Regions from separate parts of the Homo sapiens genome. Here region 2 is linked to region 1. The links are contacts of gene promoters, found by promoter capture Hi-C in blood cells and fetal thymus (Javierre and others, 2016). All regions are on one chromosome and are shown on one strand. Each heading gives the region's core, a stretch centred on a gene start or on the middle of the fragment in contact. The rest is flanking DNA. Distances are from core to core; before and after follow the strand shown.

Evidence for each region. The method cuts DNA at HindIII sites, captures the fragments that hold promoters and counts their contacts. A CHiCAGO score of 5 or more calls a contact.
Region 2: a contact is called between a fragment that was not itself captured here and the fragment with the promoter of HYAL2 in region 1, in 1 of 17 cell types (endothelial precursors). The highest score is 5.9, in endothelial precursors.

What each region holds. Positions count from the first base shown.
Region 1 is chr3:50,321,495-50,325,855 of GRCh38, reverse strand. HYAL2 (hyaluronidase 2) reads left to right here and starts at 3,111. Exons shown (of 4, transcript NM_003773.5): 1 at 3,111-3,203. It overlaps TUSC2 (tumor suppressor 2, mitochondrial calcium regulator), which reads left to right. Exons shown (of 3, transcript NM_007275.3): 3 at 1-947. RefSeq lists a silencer at 1,019-1,208 and enhancers at 1,417-1,918, 2,701-3,374, 4,008-4,347. The HindIII fragment of the contact is 6,890 bases long and covers 1-4,361 here.
Region 2 is chr3:50,193,461-50,197,821 of GRCh38, reverse strand. GNAT1 (G protein subunit alpha transducin 1) reads right to left here. Exons shown (of 9, transcript NM_144499.3): 4 at 4,159-4,316; 5 at 3,941-4,069; 6 at 3,601-3,730; 7 at 3,168-3,321; 8 at 2,866-3,057; 9 at 126-2,554. The coding sequence ends at 2,867. Among named protein-coding and RNA genes, the nearest start is that of GNAT1, 4.0 kb to the right of the region's middle. RefSeq lists enhancers at 2,323-2,854, 2,907-3,422, 3,411-3,470, 3,423-3,939, 3,940-4,361 and a silencer at 3,041-3,100. The HindIII fragment of the contact is 7,498 bases long and covers 1-4,361 here.

The DNA of each region.
Region 1 (4,361 bases), core at 1,862-4,361:
CAGCAGGGCATATACCAGTCAGGAATGCCCGTTACCTGGTTCCTTGCCTGGTCTGCTTTCTTCCAAGTTTGCCTGGGGCCTAGCCCTGCTAGAGGCTACAGCACTTTACAAGCAAGGTATGCTTTCTTCCAGCCCCTAGGCTGTGGGCACTGTATACAAGTAGGAACTTCCTTTCCTTCACTTCCCTTTTAACCCCTAGTCAGAGCATTTCAGCCGTTTGCTACCTCGATTCCTCCTGTGTTGGACAGAGGCTGGGGGCAGTGCCAGCCTGATTCTTCCGACCTACCTGCCATTTGTTCCCGCCTTCAGATGGATGGACAGTTTGCTGGCTATTGATAGGAGTGGGGACTGGGTGGGGGCTTCTCCCTCTACCCAGGGCTGGGCTGATCCCCCTACTGCAACTAACTGTTGCCCCCCAACCCCGAACCCCCAGTTGAGGAGTTGAGAGAGTGCAGGCTGGGGTCAGGACAGGCTGCGGATGCTTGTGCCTATGGGGAGTTACTCCAACCCACCTATTCTGTCTAATCTCCATGGCTTTGCACCAAATCCTCCACCCCTCCAATTGGGAGGGGACTGTTCACCACCTTGTGGTAAGGGACAACACCCTAAGGCTGGTGCCAGTAGTTATGAGTAGCCTACCACCCCCTCCCTTACAGTAACCCCCACCCCTTCAGGATCAGTCAAGGGAAAGCACTAGAACCCCTGGGTAGGGAAAGAAAGGAGGGAAAAACCATAAAAGGAATACTTATAATGTGAAGGTTTGTAAATAGTCCATGATGATGTCGTGGCAGAGTCTGATTTCTATATAGAGGTGACTTTTTTTTTAAGTACTGTGCAAGCTCTGTGCTTCTATAATGTGGGAAATGGCTTGGGGAGGATGGCCCCTAGCTTAGGAAGACTGTTGTGTTATTTGTTCAATTTCAATAAAATGATTTGTAGATCCTGCACATGAGAGTGGCATCCTGTGGGGGCTCTGACACCCAGTGTCTAGACTACCACCTGGGTTCAATAGGTAGGCCTGGCACAGGACTCTGGCAGGCCCCCTATGACCAGCAAAGCCCAAGAGTAAGTCTGAGCCCAGCCTGTGGCCATCCCAACTGTGGCCAGCAGGTGGCTGTGTGTTCACACAGACCTCACTGCAGGCCCCCTGCAGGGTGGGAGGGCACTCATTTATCTGTTGTGATCCATGTGGTGGTGACCCTTGGAATCAGAAGGCCCTGGGATACTTCACTAAGGATTGGCCCCACCTGCCTGATCTAAGGTGAGAGAGTGTGACCCAAGATAGTTCTGGAATATCTGTCTTAGCTGTAGCATCGCCAGCTGATCCTAAGTGGGGTCATGGCCTGACCCCCATGGACCTCAAAGGCCCAGCTTTAATGGACAGCAGCCAGATAGGTGTCCCCACGCCTTTGGCCTACTGCCAGGCTCAGCAACCCAAACTCATGTGCCTCCTCTGAGGCCTGCCTGCGGACACCATGGGAGAATGAGCTCAGGCTGCTGTTTCAGCAAGCAAGGCTCGGCCCACTAGTATTGCCCCTGCTGTCTGTTGCCCCCATCTTCTCATCACCTGCAGCCTGCCCACTGTGGTCATTCTGCCTGCACTTCTCAGGGGCTGCTATAAGGCAGATTCTCTACTAGGCTTAGGCTTTGACTATCAGTCCAACTCCCAGTTAAAGAGGGGAGATTTCAGGGACAGGCTTCTGAGTGTAGGGAGCTGGTCTGCCAGTCTTTCGGAGGTTTGAACTTGTCAAGGCTAGGGCAGGATCACCATATCCAGCCTGGACTTGCAGTTCTGTGGGGTGCCTCCCCATACCCCCATAAGATGCCAAACATGAGGCCCTGTCATCCTCCATGGTCCCCCTCTACTGGCTGTTCAAGGCCCAGGGCTCTCCCATGCCAGATAGCATCCTGTCTCCTACCACCACTGTCCCAGCCTGAGGGAACTCCCTGTGCTGGGCCTACCCAGCTGACCCCATCGCTGGAAACAATGGGGGTCAGGCAACACTTCCCCACTCTCTCCCGCCGGGCTGTGCTCACTTCCTTCCTGCTGGCTGCCTGAGGAAGTGTCCCTGCCCTGGGACAGTCTGGCCTAGCCTTTGTTTCCCCGGGGGTCCCCACCCATGGAGCTTTCAAGGCTTCTGGCCCCTGTGAAGCCAGCACAGTGGTACAGGGACACTGCACCTTCCCCTACCATGTCTTGGACTCCTTGGTCCTCAGGGCCAGACTCCTGGGTATTCACCTACCCCTCACACAGCCTTCTGTTGGGGGAGAGGCTCCTGGGCATTGGGCCATTGGGTTGTTGAGGGGTTGGCTCTGGGTGATTTGAGGGTAGGTAGATTTGCACCCCTGGAGAGGTCTGCTGGAACCTTGCTGCAGTCCTCCCTAGGGCCAGCCACAGGAACACCCCTCCCAGAGGAGTATACCCCTTTCCTCATCCATGTTGTAAGGAGCCCCCTACTCTGTATAGTGGACTCTGAAATCCATCCAGGAATGAACTCCAGCAGGAAAGCACTCTGCAGAACCCTCCCAGTCCATCCCCTCCTCCCCAACCCACACAGTCACACTCACTAACACATTGTCCTGTCACACAGGATGCGGAAGCTCTCAGTGGAAAAAAACGGACTCAGCTACTGGAAGTCCCCCCGACCCTCCCCCCAAGGCTAGTTCCCTTCTTGGGCACCTGCTCTGGGGGACCATCAGCTGAACGACCCCCAAGTATTTTGACTCCCAAAAGCACCACCACCTGACCCCATCCTCTCACACCCTACTGGATTTGAGGATGGGCCCCAATCCTAGGGAAGGAGTGAAGAGGTTCCCTAGTGTTGGAAGCTGTGGGTGTGGGGGAGATTGGCACCTGATCCTGAGCCCATAGCCTTCCTGTCACCTGGCGCAGCTGGCGGGGCCAGATCCTACTCGGGAAGGGTGGGGAGGGCAGCCAGCCAGCAGGGCATTCTGGAGGGAAACAGGGTCAAGGCGATCTCCTCCCCCACGCCTGTTCCTGGCCCTTTCCTCTCAGGGGGCAGCAGGAAGTGAGGAGAAAGGGCTGGGATGGGAGGCGGGAGCGGATGGGAGGGAATGGGGTTTATCAAGTCCTCGGCGAGCTGCCCAACGGGCAGCAGCTGGCGCAAGTAGCCTAGCTGGAGAGGCTCACCCCAGGAAGGAGGGAGGCCACCGACCTACTGGGCCGACGGACTCCCACACAGGTGAGCCCAGAGCAGACGGCTGGTCTGCACCCCCACAGATGCGCTCGCAGTTGCACTCCCTCCCTCTCCTGGCGCCCGGGAGGGTTAGGGGCTGGTGGTGCAGACGCGGGCCCTTTTGGGAGTTGAGTCTCGCACAAGGGAGCGGACCTAGGAAGAGCCGAGGTGGTTTCGCACGGGGCTCGCCAGGGTCTAAGCCTGCCCCCCACCGGGAGAGGCCTGTGGAGCGTAGGGGGCGCTGGATACGGGATGGAGGCCCTGGGAGACCCCTCTTGCTGGCTTTCTCGGAGGTCCAGCCAGAAACTGCTGCAAGGAATGGAGGCCTCCTCGGGGTTGAGAGGGAGCCGGGCTCCCAAAGGACCTCAGAGACTGGGCAGAAAAGGACGGGATCTCAGGGATGACTGTCCCGCCCTGATGCGAGTCAGGGAGAGGGGCGGCCAACCTCCTAGACCCCTCTGAGCTTCCCTGACCCCAACCCTGCGGCCACGCCGCGACCCAGAGCCGGGCTGCCAGGATAACGACTGCCTCGGCCCTTCCTGGGCCGGCTAAGAAGCGGTGCTTGGCCCCTTCCCTCAGTCTGGCAGGGGGCGGGGCCTCCCTTTAGACGGCGGACCAGAGAAGGGGGCCCCTGATTCGTGGGAGGCGGGGCACTACTCTCCAGGAGACCAGAGGTCGCCTCAGGTCAAAGTCCCTTTTTCCACACAAAGGGGACCCACGGCTGGCGTCTACGTTAGGGGGTGCAGAGCCAGATCTGGTGCTGCCCCCTGCCAACCTCGGAGTACCACAGCACCTCCTGATGGCCGAACGGGGCAACGCCTCCTCCTATTCCCCCCCCCCCCCTTCCCGTCCCCCTGCCTTGTCCCTCACACTGTCTCTTTAAAGGGCTGGCGGCGCCGCGGAGCTGGGAGGACTGAACCACCGGCCTCGGGCTGCAGGGGAAACATTTCAGGCTGACTGGCGCTCGTGGCTGAGACTCCCATAGAAAGCCCGGCTCAGAGGGGCATTAGGGTCCTAAATGGGCGGCCACGTCCCTCTGCAGAGGACCTGGGGCTCTTCGAGCCCGAAACGAGGCACCGGCACCGAGAAAGGTGGACCACACCTTCCCGCCCCGTCCGCAAGTCCAATCCCGGGCCCACCTCCGCACTGGAGTCTTAAAGGGCC
Region 2 (4,361 bases), core at 679-3,178, 130 kb after region 1:
CTCCAGGCTGGCGACAGAGAGAGACTCTGTCTCAAAAAAAAAAAAAAAAAAAAAAGATTCACCATATGATTTGCCAGTTCCATTTCTGGGTATACACCCAAAATAATAAAAAACAGAGGCTGGGAGAGAGATTTGTACACCCATGTTCATAGCAGCATTATTCACAATAGCCAAAAGGCAGATGTAACCATTCATCAATAGATGAATAAATAAACAAAGTGTGGAATATATACAATGGAATATTATTCAACCTTAAAAAGGAAGGAGATTCTGCCATATGCTACACATGAATAAACCTTGAAGACATGATGCTAAGTGAAATAAGCCAGTTGCAAAAAGACAAAGACTTCATGGACCCACACATCTGAGGCACTTAGAGCAGTCACATTCATAGAGATGGAAAGTAGAATGGTGGATGCCAGGAGCCGGGGGAAGGCAGGAATGGGGGGTTATTTTTTCATGGGTACAGAGTTACAGTTTTACAAGAGGAAAGGAGTTCTGGAGATGAACAGTTGCGGTGGTTGTACAACATTATGAATGTACTTAACACCACCAAACTATACACCGGCAAGTGGCTGAGATAGTAAACTTTATGATACATGTATTTTTAAAACTGGCAAAAAATCCCTACAAACATATAGCAACAAATAGTTTTCCCTTTGCTTCAAGCCCCAATATATCTTAGCATGCCTCTGTTTGATCCTCTGTTGGATTTTGATATTTCATTCATTGTGGGGTTTTGCATTCATTTGATTTTTAAAAATATTATCCTAATATTATTTACCTTGGTTACTAAATTTTTTGGCATCGCCTTAAATGTTGCACCCAAGGTGAGTGTGCCTCACTTCCCTCACCCTAATCCCAGCCCTGCAATTATGTTCCTGCCTCGAGGGCTTCCAAGACTCTCCATCACCTTCTGAGAAAGCCCAGGCCCTCCGACTGGCTTTGGGCACCTGTCCACGTCTCTCCTCCCCTGCTCTTGCTCCACTGAACTCCTGTGGCCATAAGCCCATGTTTCTGGGGCTGGTAGACACTACGGTCCCTGCCAGAATGAGCCTCCACCTCAAAACTCCCTCTTGATCCAAGACTGTCCCAGTGAATATTTTCCACAGCTCCTCTCTCCTCAACTCCCGTGAAAAGCCATGAGTTGGTCCCATACCCCCAAGAGTGCCCCACCTTGTCAGGCCAGGTACTTCTTCCTGGGAGGGGCCATCTTCCCACTTCATGCCCAACCCAGCACTGGGCACTTAATAAATGCCCATGACTTGTGATAATTAAGTCCTCCACCAAGAAAGGACAGCTGGAGCCTGATGCAAAGGTTTATTGCTGAGTCTGTGCGTCTAGCTGAGGGGAGTGCAAATTGTGCCCCGGCCTTGCCAGACGGAAGCTCCTTGTCCCCGACTGCAGCACAGGCCCTGGCCTGTGGACATAAGCAAAGATTTGGTGCTGGATGAGGAAGGAGGGAGCAGGGATGTGGGGACATGGGCCTTTGTCCCTGATAGTTCAGCCATGGCTCTCAGCTTCCCCTGCCAGGGAACCCTGAATGGAAGGGGCAAGAGAAGCTGCTGGTAGGGACAAGAGGGTCACCCAGGTTTGCTTGTAACCCCACCTGAGGTAGACCCTTTTGGGCACAGCCAGGGCCTTTGTCCTATCCTGAATCCTCTGGGCTGATCCAAGGGAGCTGGACTCTGTCCCCAGCCACCCCTCAGGACAGCCCAGCTATTGGCCATAGCTGGTGTCAACAGTACCCTCCCTTAACCCCTTAACACACCATCCTGTTGTCCAACCAGCCCAGGGTACTGTGTGTGGGTGGGGAAGTGGTGTGTGGATCTGCTGTCCAAGGACACAGGGAGCAGATCCTGCTGGAGAAGGCTGGAGGTTGCTCTGAGCCTAGTATTTGGGGAAGGGTCCTGCTGTGTCTCACTCTGGCACCCAAGGGCCCCCAGGTCTGCCCCCTCCCCACTAATTTATTTATGTGGGGGCCACACAGGCCAGAGCTAGCTTGGACTTTGGACCCTTTGGAGGCTGCTGGGAGGGACAGTCACTGGCTCTGGGTAGACAGGTGTCAAACTTGTCACATGGAGGTGGCAGGGTGAGCAGCTGGCCTGTGTGTGGGAGGGATATTCCCTGTCCTTGATGAAATACTGGGAGGGAGGGCTGTTTGCTGAGCCCAGGCCCACCAGGTGAGTCGTGGGCCCCCAGGGGCAGGAGAGCTGCGGGAGATTGGTCAGTTGGGCACTGCTGAGTCACCGTGAGCTTCAGCTGCCCCAAGTCCTGCCCGTTCCTAGCTGGGGCTGGCTGCTGTGAGTCCTAGAGGCCAGTGCAGCCGGGCGGTGAAGGGCAGGGCTTGGGGTTGGGGGCATGAGGCGCTGGGATACTGTGGGAGGTATGGGGGAGGGTCCGCGCCTCAAGGCTAGCAGGGCTCAGAGCTTTGGTGAGGTGGCAGGTTGGGGCCAGGGAGTCCCAGGGGGCTGATAGGGTCCTGGGGTTTGGGGCTGCAAGGCAGCTAGGGCTACCAGGTCTCAGGGTGACTGACACGCATGAATTCAGGCACCTGTGAAAAGGAAACCCAGTCAGCATCCCTGAGACCCAAAATAAATGGGTTTAGGCATTGTGTGTGGTGGGGCGGCCCTGGAAGCTGTGACACCTGAGGTCTTGGGGCGGGGCCAAAAGAAATTCAATGGGTGGGACTTGTGGGGTGGGGCGGGGCCTCTGTCGGTGGGGTGGAGCCTGAGGAGCTGGGGTGGGGCCTGGAGGCAGTAGGCTCCAGGATTTGGGGGTGAGGCTCCAGGGCCGTGGTGTGGGGTGGGGAGCTGGACGGGGCTGGGGTATTGAGGCAAGAGCCTGGAGAGGGCAGCGACCTACCTCAGAAGAGGCCACAGTCTTTGAGGTTCTCCTTGATGATGATGTCGGTGACAGCGTCGAAGACAAATTTGACGTTCTGCGTGTCGGTGGCGCACGTCATGTGGGAATAGATCTCCTTCACGTCGCGCCGCATGTTGAGCTCGAGGAACTGCACCTTGATGTAGTTGCCGGCGTCCTCGTAGGTGTTGGGTCCTGCGGGGGCGGGAGCTCTCACTCTGCTCAGCCCTTCCTTCCCCGTGCGGGGGGTGCGCGCCGCGATCGTGGGGCGGGGGCGCCGCCTGGCGGCCTTGCGGACTTCTCACCATCGTAGTCCGGGAAACAGATGCTGAGGTGCGCCTTCTTGATCTTCTCGAAGAAGACGTCCTTCTTGTTAAGGAAGAGCACGATGGACGTCGTGGCGAAGTAGCGGTGGTTGCAGATGCTGTTGAACAGGTGCAGGCTCTCGTGCATGCGGTTCTGAGGAGGGCAGCAGCTGTTGGGCACCCGGGGTAGCGTCCGACCCGCAGCACCTGCTCTCTGGGCTCCCGGGCACGCGGGGCTTCCCGCTCAGCTGGCTCTCAGAGGGCTCCCCGCACTGCCCCAGATGGGCCTGCTGAACGCCTCCGGGCCTCCTCAGGCCGCCCGGGACAGGCATCCCCTCCCGTGCCCTCCCCCAGCCCAGCGCGCGGTCTCCGCCTCCAGGGACCAGCAGCTCCTCCTCGCCCCCCTGGAACACAGGCCCTGCCTGGCACGCACCACTTCGTCGTCCTCCACTAGCACCATGTCGTAGGCGCTCAGCGCCGCGATGAAGATGATGCAGGTCACGCCCTCGAAGCAGTGGATCCACTTCTTGCGCTCCGAGCGCTGCCCGCCCACATCGAACATCCTGCGGGGCCGCGGGGGCCTGAACCTGCGCCCCGGGCCCCACAGGCAACATCCCTTCGCCCTGTGCTGGTCGGGGAGCTCTCGGCCGGGACTACCACCCTTTCTGCTGGCGGGGTATCAGGGAAGGGGCAGGGTCTATCGCAGGGATGGGGTCCCCGGGGCAGGACGGGGCCTGGGGCAGTGACCTCCTGGGCTAGCGTATGGGTCGTACCGGAAGTTGAGATCCTTGAAGGAGAACTGCGTCTCGATGATGCCAGTGGTCTTGACTCGCGAGCGCAGCACGTCCTGCTCGGTGGGCACGTAGCCCGGGGTTACCAGGCGCTCCAGGTCGGAGAGGTAGCTGCGCGAGACCCGGCCGTAGGTGGGTGGGGAGGCGTGGAGGGCCCCCTGCGCCCCGCGCCCCGCGCCCCGCGCTGCCCGCGCGCTCACTAGCCCGCCGAGTCGTTGAGCTGGTACTCCGAGGCGCGCTCAAAACAGGCCTGGATACCGGAGTCCTTCCACAGCCGCTGGATGATGTCCGACATCTCCTTGGGCATCGTGCCCTCCTCGATAGTGTCTGCCATGTGCATCAGCTTCCGGGCGTCGTCCTGGGGGCAGGGTGAGAGTGGCTGGTGGCGGCCAGGGACTCGGGC